Regions from separate parts of the Homo sapiens genome. Here region 2 is linked to region 1. Evidence: promoter capture Hi-C in 16 types of primary human blood cells and fetal thymus (Javierre and others, 2016). All regions are on one chromosome and are shown on one strand. Each heading gives the region's core, a stretch centred on a gene start or on the middle of the fragment in contact. The rest is flanking DNA. Distances are from core to core; before and after follow the strand shown.

Region 1 (3,680 bases), core at 793-3,292:
GACAGTGCAGAGTCAACTAGACTTCGTGAAACGCTGAATTAGGGAAGTGCAAGAAGATTTGAAAATGACTCTAAGCATCTGGTCACAAGTGGCCTACAGCATAACCACACCTGCACAGCACTAACAGTTCTTACACAGGCTTTTCCAGGCTGCATCTGAACCCGTTTATTTAGTTCTACATACCAGACCTGCCGTGAGACAGCACTCCACTTTAGATGGAAGCAGAAAACTACCACCACCATTCTAGCAGGAAAATATAACCAAAGATTCCAGCTTTGTTTCTTGATGAAAGAGGCCCACTCTTCTAACCCTGAGGAACTTCCTATCTGCACTACTGGGGAACAGGGAAATTTCTTCTCTCTATCCCCAAAAACCAAGATTCTCCACACACTTGAAGACAAAGCTCAGCTCTATATGAATATTTTAAGTCACATGTACATAAAACACAGATGACAAAAGGGGTCGTTCTAAACTGGAGCTAGGCCAAGTGGATTACACTAAAAAATTAAAATGGCTAAAAAGCAATCTTCTGGGGTTAATGTATCACAAAACGTCAAAAAATAAATTCTGTTCCAGAATGCACTGCTACATAATGATTCTGCAGTTTTGCTGAAGCTTTATTTTCCGCAGTTTTAAAAACACTGTTGGAAAGCAGACATCAAAGGGTTTTCCTTGTCTAAAAAGCATACCATTACGGAATTTCCAGTTTTATCAAGAAGAACAGTTTACAAAATATATTTAATAAAGGTCTGGCTGCCTACAGTTCCTTATAAGGAAGACCATGTATAAATTTCATTCTTTAAAAAAGAACTCAATTTATGGGAGTCTATCTATGAGTAAACGAAGCTCCAAGGCTTGGTTTAAACATTTCCACTCTCAAAAAGGACTGATGAGTCCAATCTCCTTGAGAAACATGTCTACTTCATCTAGCTTTTAAGGAGATTCTAAAACGTTATGTATACATACACTTTTCTCAAACAAGCACTGTTGTAAATTTTTCACATTGCCTTACTATATTAAAAAAAAGGCTACCTTACAGATTAAAATATTATCTAGGAGGATTACCAAACTACGACCTCCTGATAAATGAGACAGCTCTCCAAGCCACTGTGACTCTAACCTTTCCATTCTAAATCTTTCGGGCGCGGAGGATGAATTTTTCTATCTTTTTGTTGGAATTAAGATCCTGCATTATCAGGAGATACAGAGTCAGGCTTAAAGCCACAGACTCCAGCAGCTCCTCGCTGCCCTAGCACAGCGGGCAGGGGGAGCCAAGGCGCAGCATCGCCTCCACGCTCCGAGACCAACACCAAGTCTCTTCACCTCCACGCTCCGAGACCAACACCAAGTCTCTTCGCCTCCACGCCGAGAGCAGCTGCGAAACGGACGCTCTGGGGTTTCAGCCGCACCACCACTTTCCTCCACCGCAGACCGAAGGGCCGCCCTAGGAGGAGCCTTCTAGTCCAGTCACCTCAGGCCCGTTTGCTTGGGGTGGAGAGTGCGGTGGATTCCTAAGCCTTTCCCCTAACGGGTGATTTCCTACACCAGACGCAGGACCCACGGTCCCACGGGTCCCAGGGGGAACTAAACCCCAAGGCTGCAAAGGGGCCACGGGTGGGGCCCACCAACATCTCACAGCCTCCTGAGGAGGCGTGCGCCCTGGACAGGAGGTCCCTGCCCCCGCGTCTGGCCCCTGGTATCTTCCCCTAGGGCTCCCGGCCGCCGCTCACCGTGAAGGGGACATCCCCGACGCTGCCCACGGAGTAGCAGTTGTCTCCAGGGTTGACAGCTCCGGTGAGGACCTGATGCAGATGCATCTCCGGAGCCCGGGCTGGACAGAATGCGCGGGAGGTGCGACAAGCTCCGCGCCTGACCCTCCTCGGGCTGCGAGAGCCGTTTCCCTCTGTGCCTCCCTCGGAAACCCGCCCCGCGGAGGCTCTGGCTTAACTCCTCGCCCCCCTTTCGCCTTCCCTCCGCCTCGTCCCTGCCATGGGAGCTCCTCGACCGCCGCCGCCGCCCGGGTCGCCGCTCAGCTGCGGAAATGCCCGGATGTTCCCACTGCCTGCTGCACCGGCGCACAAATGCGGGAGGGCAAGGGTGCTTGTGAGGCGGGGGAGGGCACCGGGGGGAACGCGCGAGCCGGGAGCGTGCAGCAAGGGAGCGGGCCAGCGCGCGCGCCCACCGCGGGGGAGCGAGGTAGAGCCCTCCCCCCGCGGCAAAGCTCTCAGCTCAGTCTTTCTTCCCCCCATCACCCGCGTTTGCGCGTGCGCGCGCCGTGGTTTCCAGGGCAATTGCGCGCGCCACGCCGACCCGCCGTCCCGTGATTGCGCGCGCAGACGTGCGGGAGTTCCCTTGGAGCCTCCCGGGCTGTAGCCGCTGCGGACTGGGGCGGAGGTGGGGGCGGGGGCGAGTGGGGTGCAGGTCGCTCGGGGCCACGCAGCAGTCGGACGCCGGGGACGCGCCACGAGCCGGTTTTGCTGTGTTGAACGTATTCCAGAATACAGTGTGCAATGGTCAGTGCCGTTGACCTCAGAAGGACACCCGTCACCGGGAATTTCCACCTGGAGATATCTTAGATATCTTCAGTCTTTTCGAAAGTGCAGTACATAAGATATTTTATTTTACATAAACAATGTAGGCATCTTGCAACTATTTAGAGAAGCCATACTCCCCTGAAAGCTAATTATTTTGCTCCCACCTTTTGTCACGGTTATTCTAGACAGCAAAAAGCCGCCTTAGAGACGGGTGACTCCTTTCGACTTTTTTTCATGAGTAATTTCATGAATTAGCAGAATCGCCTGATTTTCCAAACTATCTGCTAAACTTTGAATGGTTGATAACAAGGATCATCAGCTCCCTGCCACAGGCCAATTCATGGCAAATGTTCTAACCCATACTATGCTTAAATCACAGGGTAAGGAAGTAGGGGACACCAAGACATAACTATCTGTAAAACCAGGCAGAACGCCAAAGGTGGTGTGATTGAGATATAAAAGTCTTTATGCACCACAGAAGAGGAAGAAGAATGTTGACTAAGGGCGTGGATAAGGCATTATGGAGACATAACCTGACATAAACGCTGAGTTTAATTTTGACAGGCTGAGATAGACAAGAAATGCTGCAAATACAGTACAGAAAATAGAGGGGGTGTTGAAGGTACAAAGATTAATGTTTGAGGCAGATGATTTATAGGGTAGGGAAAGTAAATAATACTTAGCAAGAGATCAAGGTATCCAAGTGGTCTAACTCTTGGCCTACCAAAACATATTATGGAGAGTCTTGAATGCTCCAAGAAGCCCAGATTTCACTCTGCATGCAGTGGGGGTATATCAGATGTTTCTGAGCAAAAATTTATATAATCAGAGCTGCTTTGGGAAGATGACTTTGTAGCATTTTGAAGCATAAAGGGAAGGGTGGGGAAGATTGGAGGCAAAGATCTGTCAGTCGTTGGTAATCTTTTCAGTAGAAAGTTGCAGGAGGAATGAAAAATAATACCTAATGACCTGCGGCATTCTCTCTCTTTCTCTCTCTCCCCCCTCCCTCCCCTTCCCTCCCCCCCCCTTCCTCCCTTCCCCCGCGCCATATCCAAGGGTTCCTTTTTGTTACTACTAGATTCTAGATGAGTCTCTTAATCTTTGACCTTCACTGCATTAGAAACCAAGTCAAAACTATCATCAAAC
Region 2 (3,680 bases), core at 496-2,995, 48 kb before region 1:
AATCCTCAATAAAATACTGGCAAACCAAATCCAGCAGCACATCAAAAAGCTTGTCCATCACCATCAAATCGGCTTCATCCCTGGGATAAGAAGCTGGTTCAACATACACAAATCAATAAATGTAATCCATCACATAAAGAGAACCGATGACAAAAACCACATGATTATCTCAATAGATGCAGAAAAGGCCTTTGACAAAATTCAACAGCCCTTCATGCTAAAAACTCTCAATAAACTAGGTAATGATGGAACGTATCTCAAAATAATAAGAGCTATTTATGACAAACCCACAGCCAATATCATACTAAATGGGCAAAAACTGGAAGCATTCCCTTTGCAAACCAGTACAAGACAAGGATGCCCTCTCTCAACACTCCTATTCAACACAGTACTGGAAGTTCTGGCCAGGGCAATCAGGCAAGAGAAAGAAATAAAGGGTATTCAATTAGGAAGAGAGGAAGTCAAATTATCTCTGTTTGCAGATGACATGATTGTATATTTAGAAAACCCCATTGTCTCAGCCCAAAATCTCCTTAAGCTGATAAGCAACAAACATATGAAAAAAAATGTTCGTCATCACTGGTCATTAGAGAAATGCAAATCAAAACCCCAATGAGATACCATCTCACATCAGTTAGAATGGTGATCATTAAAAAGCCAGGAAACAACAGATGCTGGAGAGGATGTGGAGAAATAGGAACGCTTTTACACTGTTGGTGGGAGTGTAAATTAGTTCAACCATTTGTGTAAGACAGTGTGGGAATTCCTCAAGGATCTAGAACCAGAAATACCATTTGACCCACCAATCCCATTACTGGGTATATACCCAAAGGATTATAAATCATTCTACTTTAAAGACACATGCACATGTATGTTTATTGTAGCACTGTTCACAACAGCAAAGACTTAGAACCAACCCAAATGCCCATCAATGATAGACTGGATAAAGAAAATGTGGCACATATACACCATGGAATACTACACAGCCATAAAAAAGGATGAGTTCATGTCCTTTGCAGGGACATGGAAGAAGCTGGAAACCATTATTCTCTGCAAACTAACACACAAACAGAAAACCAAACAATATGTCCTCACTCATCAGTGGGAGTTGAACAACGAGAACACATGGACACTGGGGGAAACATCACACACTGAGGCCTGTCAGGGGGTCGGGGGGCTAGGGGAGGGATAGCATTAGGAGAAATACCTAATGTAGATGATGGGTTGATGGGTGCAGCAAACCACCATGGCACGTGTATACCTATGTAACAAACCTACACGTTCTGCACGTGTGCCCCAGAACTTAAAGTATAATAAAAAATATATATATACATATGGGAAAAAATCATATTTTTCATAAGAATTTTATTTTTAATATAAAATAACTATTAAAAAATACATTTCAAAAGCATGCATCTTTGTCAGAAACTTTATAATCCAGTGAAAATAATATAAAATCTATGAGAAAAGCATCAACTAATAACAGGTCTTAAAAATATTTCAAATAAAATGGCCTAATTATACCATCAAACAGAAAATACCAATTGGGACACCATCTAGAGGAAGGAATACAAAAAACAGGCTAAGGAGAAGTCAGGGAGCCATAAACTGCACCTGGGGGAAAGAGCTGATGAAGACATCTCCAGAGGACTGAAGCAAGAAATTTAGGGACCAGGAGGATTTTGTTCCAGGTCACATACCTGGTAAGAAAAGACATAAATCCCTCTGTTCCCAGAAACTACCACAGCCTGTTTTCCAATAATTTCTTGAAGGCTATTTCTAAGTTCACTCTCCTCTTGGTAAGATGGAATTAACTACAGGGAATAGACCAAAAACCGTCCTTTCTGACACCTCTGCACCCTGGTTAACCTTTAAAACTCAATTAGGTATATATTCTTTTAAGGCCTGCCAAAAATATCCCCTGTGATTTTAAGGCACTGTTATACCAAAAAGTGATTTTAACTCTTATCCAACATCTAACATTCTTTCCAAGAAAAATCATAATCCACAACAGAAAGCTACTTCAAATGACACTTACGCAAAAAGTGTTGTGAATAATTCCATTCAACATGTCAATCAATGAATGAATGATTATAACAGACTAATACAAGGTCACCAATGTGAAAGTTATCACCACAAGGACTGGGGGATAAAAGGACTAAACGAAGATGTCAATAAAGACAATAAAGATATTATAATTTTGCCTTATTTACATTAAACCATCTCAAGAAAAGTAGAAACACAAGTTGCTCTGTTTCCCATGGTATGAATACCAATGTCTTATATACTTTTTTAAAAAGTTTTACTTCCAGAGAATGTGTGTTCATTGCGATTATCACCAGCACTTGAGTTATTTACTAAAATTCACCTCTGACAACTATCATACAACTTTAGGCAGGCTTAAGCTACCTTGCTTGGCCTAGAGAGAAGAGCAACAAAAAATTAAAAAGAGAAATCTGACACTCCCCATGTTTTCTAAACTAAGTGTAAGCAATGCTTGAGGGTGGGGAGTACCTGGGGGGAAAAATTAGAAAAGCAAGAAACAAGTACCAGGAAACACCAGGAAATCGTGTTTCAATACTAGGTCAAATGTATCACTGAACTGTCAAGTACTGGTACATTTACACAAATATTAAGGCTTGATATGGGCAGTAGGATAGGGCAGGATAAATGGTATGATAAAGTAACCATAATTTATCATTCAGTATAAATTTGTATGATTACTATTTATCACCATGAATATTCTGATTTAACATACTCTTGATCAAATTTGTTACCCAATAAATAACAATTTCTAGAACACTAAGATTGTTTAAACTGTTACAATGATTACAGGTAAAAACCTTATTACTCTATTCTCGTAGAGACATTCAACTCGGCTACATAATACTGGCCTTACTGAATTGCTGGAGTATACAGCAAACATCCTATATTTACTTGACATGCCACCAAAATTTGATGTACATTATGTTTGAAAATTGGGGGAGAGGTACATATGATGAAATTTTAACTATTTCAAAATAAAACCTCTGTTTTAAAGCCTGAATGAACCATAAGACTCTTCACTCAACAAAAAATCTTTCATTATGTTAACAGACTTTACAAAGCACTTCCTATATGACAAGCATGATATTAGATATTAACAACTTGCAGAGTTTCTTAATAAAACTTTGATGTTATAGTATGAGTGATATAAGGGGTGCTAGGTAGAGAAGAAAAAAGTTTACTTCCCCTTACTGGCTTAATGGCTGCTAGAAGTATTAACTGGCAGAATATCAGTATGCACAGGATTGTAAGGCCTACAGATCTTTGAAGACAGTATACATACAGCTGTAGAACAATTATCAAATTATCAGTTTAATGGCACTTTACAATTTGTATAAACCTATCACTTTGCAACTTCTGCTAATAATCACCCAAGCAATACATAAGAAATTATACGCAAGCTTTGCATAAAAGGATAAGAAGATTCTGAGATTATTAAACACATTTTTAAATGACATTCAGTAAAGAAATTAAATCCCTTACTCTTCCTTGTTGGTTAGAACACTCCACACAGCTGACTTGGATGTTTCCATGCTTAGCACCAGGAATGATCTGTACACATTCAAAGTCATTTGCCAAAATAACAATATCACAGCCTGATCCATATGCCTAAAAAAAAAAAAAAAAAAAAGTTT

Evidence for each region. Contacts are between HindIII fragments. The CHiCAGO score rates a contact against its expected background, and 5 or more counts as called.
Region 2: a contact is called between a fragment that was not itself captured here and the fragment with the promoter of DMXL2 in region 1, in 2 of 17 cell types (M1 macrophages and monocytes). The highest score is 5.5, in M1 macrophages.

The regions. Positions count from the first base shown.
Region 1 is chr15:51,620,729-51,624,408 of GRCh38, forward strand. It overlaps DMXL2 (Dmx like 2), which reads right to left and starts at 2,043. Exons shown (of 44, transcript NM_001378457.1): 1 at 1,731-2,043. The coding sequence starts at 1,817. RefSeq lists an enhancer at 1,181-1,590 and a silencer at 1,961-2,180. The HindIII fragment of the contact is 5,213 bases long and covers 614-3,680 here.
Region 2 is chr15:51,572,528-51,576,207 of GRCh38, forward strand. It overlaps DMXL2 (Dmx like 2), which reads right to left. Exons shown (of 44, transcript NM_001378457.1): 2 at 3,529-3,654. Among named protein-coding and RNA genes, the nearest start is that of DMXL2, 48 kb to the right of the region's middle. The HindIII fragment of the contact is 3,397 bases long and covers 48-3,444 here.